2 separate regions of the Homo sapiens genome follow, and region 1 is linked to region 2. Evidence: promoter capture Hi-C in 16 types of primary human blood cells and fetal thymus (Javierre and others, 2016). All regions are on one chromosome and are shown on one strand. The core of a region is centred on a gene start or on the middle of the fragment in contact, and the rest is flanking DNA. Distances in the headings are between cores, read along the strand shown.

Region 1 (3,474 bases), core at 36-2,535, 4.3 Mb before region 2:
TGGCATTATTGTGAACAACTAGGTGTAAATATAATATAATCCACTTTTTTAAAGGCAGCATGCCTCAAGCCATTTAGAGACAAGCCTGGAAAATGCGTTGGAAGGTGAAGTTAGTTGTAATACTCATTTTTGTCTACTAGGTACGATCACAAAATAACAGGAAAGCATTGTGTCAGTAGGCTGTTCACTGATTCTTAAGGAAGTTACAAGATATATTTCATTGGAAGGAATTGTAAAATGACTACAATAATCAGTACTATGCAGGACTACCTTTTATATTTGTGCATTACTTTTGAATTTTGTTCAACATGATCAATATTACATGTTAGGATCATTCAGATGTAGTGAATGAGAGTTTATAGTGGTTTACTTATTTAAATATTTGACTTTTAAGTTCCTCACAATATATTTTTTTCTTTTTTCTCCTGTCAGATGGATAGTGGCTATAATACGCAGAATTGTGGAAGCAATATTATGGATACAGTTGGGGCAGAAAGTTACTGCAAAGAAAGTGATGCACAAACATGTGAAGTTGAGAGTAAATCTCAAGCATTTAATATGAAGGTACGGAGAAAATATAGTGAAAGCTTAATATTGTTTAGATTAGAAATATAAAATAATTTTGATTATTAGACAATAGTACTATTGAGAAACTATATGAAATTTAAAACACTAAAAGGTAAGCCTGTTTTCTTAACATCCAATAACCTTTAAATATTTTGGTTACTCTGAATACACAAGTATCTTACATACTACAAAGTGTGCAAAGGTAGCGTGTATTTGATGAGGGCATTTACTGAACCTTCCAGGTGGTGGTTATATATTCATACTTGAAGAAACTCATCATAATTTCAGGCACTAGTCAGGACAGTCTTTAATTTTATGTGCCAATTTTTTTTGCATTTTATTTTTTTGTAGAGACAGGGCCTGCTGTGTTGCCCAGGCTGGTCTCAAACTCCTGGTGTCAAGCAGTCTTTCTGCCTCAGCCTCGCAAAGTGCTGCGCGATTACAGGCATGAGCCAACATGCCCAGCCTTGTATGCCGTTTCTTTTTTTTCTTTTTTTTTTTTTTTGAGACAGGGTCTTACTCTGTCACCCGGGCTGGAGTGCAGTCGTAGAATCAGATCACTACAGCCTTTAACTGCTGGGCTCAAGCAATCCTCCTGCCTCACCCTCCTGAGTAGCTAGAACTACAGGTGTGAACCACCTTGCCCTGCTGTTATATGCCAGTTTCTTATAAAATACTATAAATATCAGCAAATGTGCAACAAATGTTTAATAGGGAGGCCACCTTAGTTTTCCTTTCTGTTGTATGTAGTAGGAGCAAACTGCCTTTCTGTTGTATGTAGTATCAGAGCAGGTCTCTTCTAATATTAACCTGAACAAAATCCATCCTATTTCAGGATGCAGTTGTCTATCTAAACATAAGTAGAGATAAATGAAGGATTTTTTTAAATTTTATTATTTTATTTTTTTTGAGACAAGGTCTCATTCTGTCACCCAGGCTAGAGTGTAGTGGCACGACCACAGCTCACTGTAGCCTTCACCTCCCAGACTCAAGCAGTCTTACCACCTCAGCCTCCTGAGTAGCTAGGGCTACAGGCATGTGCCACCACACCCAGCTTTTTAAAATTTTTGGTAGAGACAGGGTCTCACTATGTTGCCAGGGCTAGTCCCAAACTCCTGGGCTCGTGCGATCCTCCCACCTTGGCCTCTCAAAGTGTTGGGATGCTTTTTGATGCAGAATATTGATTTATAAAATACTGTATCTTTACTGTCCCTTCAGAGTTCAGCTAAAGAAACGTGCTTTTAGGTTTTAAAAACAGTCCCGATAATTGCATCCTCCAGTGGTCCTACTTAAACTGAAAACAAGGTATTGTCTTCTTTTTCACAGCAAGACCACACAACACAGAGGTGTTGGATGAAAACAGCAAGCCCTTTTCAATGCAGCAGTCCATAGAATGCCTCTGTCAGAATCAAAGACTAAGCTTAAGAGTTCCTCGCATATATCGTTGTGCACAGGATCAACATGATGGTGACTGGGAAAAAATTACTTCAAGTAACATGCTTAGCTTTCCCTCCTTAATGTGAAAAATCAAGGGCTTACTGACATAGGAACAACAGAAATGCTCCTGGAACTTCAAGTTGCTGAATTATAAGTTTATTTTTTATCAATAAATATTTTTATACTTACATTGAGTGATGTGTTTAACAACAAATTGTGACAGAGCTGAGTGCTCCTATCTTACAGGGTCAATGAACTACTTATTAAGCCTTACTGGTAGCACTGAATTTAGCAGTTCTGAGAACATGTGAAACTATGTTAAAACTGAAGGCACTATATATTTTTACATAAAAGCTTGAACATACAGATGAATTATAACCTATGTGAAGAAATCTTAGATATAAAACTAACTTTTCAAAGATACAAAAGAAATTAAACAGGTTTCCTGAAATTTTAGTTCTTGGTCTGTTCACCTCTGTGGGGAAAATTCTTAGTTCCAGTGATAACTGTTCTAGTTACTACTTTTAAGTATGTAAATACTAGAAAGGTAGTACTAGTGACATCATCACGTGTATTGTTATCTATGGGGCAAATGTGTGGTGCCCAGAATAAAATATACCTCATGCCTAGGGTAGGGACATCCTTTCCAGCTCAAACGTGGGTAGGGATGTGGGAGAATAAGAATGTGGGAGAACCAAGAGAAAAAGTGGGGCTGGGAGAGTGGAGTTCCCGTAGGGCATAGGCCTGTGAAGTAACACTGGGGCAGATATGTATGTTATATACAACTATTTTTTTAAAAAACTTATATCCATGTTGGGAGTAGATGGGTATATAACAGTTTGGAAATACTATCTTTGGAGAATGTATTTTTGTATTTATAAATCAACTTTTAAAAACTGTCTCATTCAAAAGGGAATAAAGACCTGTGTTATCAATGTGTCATTTTCTTCTTTCCTCCATAACTGTACCTTGAAACCTTACTGCTGACCTGCAGAAAATGTGCCGCGTTATGTACCTGGCTCATCTTCAACACACTAACCATGAACACTAATAGCCATTAGGGGACATGGCTACAGATACTACATTGGAAAGTTGTCTTTAATCACACAGGTGTTAAACTCAATATAAATTTACCTAAAAACAATTGCTATACCTAAAAGGAGTTCTGGGTACTAAGGGTAGAAGCCTCACTGGCTACAGTTTTTTAATAGTACAAAAGTCAAGAAATAACACAATAGTGACTATAACCTGTATTCAAATCCCTACTCTGTCACTACTTGATCTGGGCTGATATGGTATGGCTCTGTGTCCTCACCCAAATCTAACCTTGAATTGTAGCAATCCCCACGTGTCAAGGGTGGGACCAGGTGGAGGTAACTGGATCATGGGGGCGGTTTCCTCCATGCTGTTCCTGTGATAGTGAGCCGGTCTCATGAGATCTGAAGGTTTTATAAGCGTCTGGCATTTCCA
Region 2 (3,306 bases), core at 789-3,288:
GAACAAGTCAGAGCTATCTGTTCTCATTACTTCTATTCAGCATGGCGCTTAAGGGCTTAATCAATGCAATAACACAATAATATAAGAAAAGAAATTTAAGGCATATAGTTTAGAAAGGAAAAAACCCAAATTTATTGAAGACTACATGATTATCTAAGAAAACCCCAAAGAGTCTATAAAAAGTTTCTGAAATTAGTAAGTGAATTTAAGATCACAGGGTAGAAATCTAATATACAAAAGTCAATTCTATTTTTATACACTAGAAATGAACAATTGGAAAGTGAAATAAAAAATACCATTTACAATAGCTTTACAAATGTTAAATGTTTAGGAATAAATTTAATAAAATATGTACAAGATGTGTACAATGAATTACAAAACACTGCTGAGAGAAATTTTAAACAGATGTAAGAAAACCCCTGATACATATCATGTTCACAGATACGAAGACTCAATATTATTGACATGGCGATTCTCCCTAAACTATCAATTTGGTGTTAATTCCAGTCAAAATTCCATCCCCACCGCCCCCCCCCCTTTTTTTTTTAAAGAAACGGTCAAGCTGATTCTAAGCTTTATATGGAAATGCAAGAGATCTAGAATAGCCAAAATAACTTAGATAAAGAACAAAGTTAGAACCTGATATCAAGACTTTTTATAAAGCTACAGTAAGTAAGACACTTTGATGGATCAATGGAGCAGAATAGAGTCCAGAAACAGACCTACCATTTATGGTAAATTGACTATTGATAAATGATAGTCTTCTCAATGAATCGTAGTAGAACAATTGAACATCTATATGCAAAAGATAAGCCTCAATTCTTACACTGCACATAAAAATTAAAATGTATACAGTTCTAAAGAAAAGAACTAAAACTATAACATTTCTAAAGGAAAAGAAGAGAATATCTGTGTGACCTTGGGTTCTAGACCATACATAAAAATCATGAATCAAAAAAACAAGAAAAAACTGGACTTTATCAAACTTAAAAACTTCTGTTCTCTGAAAGATAAGACACAGACTAGGAGAAAATATTTGAAAACACATAATTGGTAAAAGACCTGCAAAGATCTGTATGTGAGTGTTCACAGCAGCTTTACTAATAGTAGCCAAACAGCAGAAACAACCCAAATATCCATCAAAAAATGAAAGGATAAACAAATTACGGTAAATCCATATAATGGAACACTTCTCAGCAACCAAAAGAATGAACCATGGCTACATGCTACAACATGGATAAATCTCAAAAGCATTACACTAAAGTGAAAGAAACAAGACAAAAAGGCTACATTCTGAGTGGTTCCATTTATATGACATCCAGGAAAAGGCAACACAACACTGGCAGAATATAGTTCAGTAGTTGCTAGGCTCTAAGTGTGAGGTTGGGGGATTGCCTGCAAAGGAACATGAGAGAAATTTGGGGAGTGATGTGTTTTAAAACTTGGTTGTGGGCTGGGCATGGTGGCTCATATCTGTAATCTCAGCACTTTGGGAGGCCAATGCTGGCAGACTGCTTGAGCCCAGGAGTCTGAGACCAGCCTGGGCAACATGGCAAAACCACATCTCTGCAGATATATTAAAATCAGCTGGGCACGGTGACGTGCACCTGTAGTTCCAGCTACTTGGGAGGCTGAGACAGGAGGATCCATTGAGCCCGGGAGGTTGAGGTTGCAGTGAGCCGTGATCATACCACTGCACTCTATCCTGGATGACAGAGAGAGACCCGGTCTCAAGCAAAACAAAACAAAACAAACTTGATTGTGATAATGATTTCACTAGTGTACACAAGTAAAAATTCATTGAATGATACAGTTTAAAATGAGGAATTTCTGTATGTAAATTGTGCTTCAATAATCTAACTTAAAAAAAGATTCTCTTAAAAATCATGTTATTTCATGGGCACACACATGACAGTATAACCTTTCCTACTCAACCTTAACTCCTCAGCATACACTCTCCCACCCTTAGGCCAGTCTCTCTGATCAGTCCTTGCTCCCATTCTCTCTACTAATCTCATTTGAATCCCTTCATTCTCTTTCAGATCTAACTCCAGTCCAATATCCCCTAAGAAGCCTTCTCTGACCACTCCAGGGCACAATGATCTCAAGGTACTCTGAAAGCCAATGTCATCTGCAATTTTTTTCACACATTTAATAACTTGCTTTTATACTATATAGTATCTTTGTTGATTTCTTTTTGGGGGGGGTGAGGGGAATGCAGAGGGTTCATAACCAAGAACAGAATGCAAGCTTTTTGAGGGCTTGCCATTCTCACAATTGTTTAGTACAGAGTTGACATCTGCTAAAATTCAATTGACTTAACAGGTAGTTACACAGTCTTGTAGTCATTCAAATGAAATCTCCAAAAGATGTTGAAAGAAGTTACCAGCATTTAAGAAATCTTATTTTTTTCAGACCTCAAACAAAAACAGGACAATGATTAGATACTACTGTATTAAGAAACACAGGGTGAGACAAGGGAAATCCTTGAAATTTATCTTTCAAAGGGCTGCCAAGGTGATTATTTGTAGCATTTAAAGACACTAGAATATTGAGACTAGTCAGAGTTGACTTCTCTTTTTGCAAATGGATGAAGTACAAAAGTTTTAGGTATAGTGTTTTAGTCAGGACCGAAAAAGTAAAGCAACTGTATTTTTGCAAGAAATTTCAAGAACAGTAACAAAGAGTAGTTATTCTAATAAAAATTTACTAAACATGTGTGTGATGCTACCATGATGGATACAAAGACAAATTAGACATGGACTTGGTCTTTAAGAAGCTATGGTTCAGTAGAAGAGAGAAAACATCCATGTAGATAAACATAAGAGAAAAATGAAGAAGAGACACATACAGATTATTATGAACTCCAGCAGAGAGAAAACTGCTTTTGTTTGGGGAAATCATAAACAAATTTCATGAAGAGGATAAATCGTAAAAAAGTTTCATGAAGAAGACAGTACTTTTGAGCTGAACTGTGAAGGACAGGGACAATGGAGGAGGGAGAAGATAACTGATGGGGTATAGCACAGAAATGATTACAAATGAATGCAAAAACCCAAGGTATAGAGCAAATTTGCTGTTACTTAAAATACTAGCTAGATTATACATGAATAATGAATTTCTTTTAGATAGTTCCTTCATCTTTCTAAGAACAAATATGAACTGCATAAAACTGTTATTACATATCCATCAAAATATACAGCAATAAATGAATTATTTCACTGAAAAAAAGAATAAAAAAGGGAAATAAATATCTTTAGAATACAAATAAATACATTGTATACTTTTTCTTCTCCTTCAGGTGAT

What was found. The method cuts DNA at HindIII sites, captures the fragments that hold promoters and counts their contacts. A CHiCAGO score of 5 or more calls a contact.
Region 1: a fragment that was not itself captured here is called in contact with the fragment with the promoter of MYCBP2-AS1 in region 2 in 1 of 17 cell types (naive CD4 T cells); the score reaches 5.9 in naive CD4 T cells.

What each region holds. Positions count from the first base shown.
Region 1 is chr13:72,753,258-72,756,731 of GRCh38, forward strand. It overlaps BORA (BORA aurora kinase A activator), which reads left to right. Exons shown (of 12, transcript NM_024808.5): 11 at 433-564; 12 at 1,894-2,939. The coding sequence ends at 1,959. DIS3 (DIS3 exosome endoribonuclease and 3''-5'' exoribonuclease) reads right to left here. Exons shown (of 21, transcript NM_014953.5): 21 at 1-3,474. Among named protein-coding and RNA genes, the nearest start is that of DIS3, 27 kb to the right of the region's middle. The HindIII fragment of the contact is 1,400 bases long and covers 586-1,985 here.
Region 2 is chr13:77,073,476-77,076,781 of GRCh38, forward strand. It overlaps MYCBP2-AS1 (MYCBP2 antisense RNA 1), which reads left to right and starts at 2,039. Exons shown (of 4, transcript NR_046716.1): 1 at 2,039-2,109. It overlaps MYCBP2 (MYC binding protein 2), which reads right to left. Exons shown (of 83, transcript NM_015057.5): 68 at 3,276-3,306. The HindIII fragment of the contact is 1,677 bases long and covers 572-2,248 here.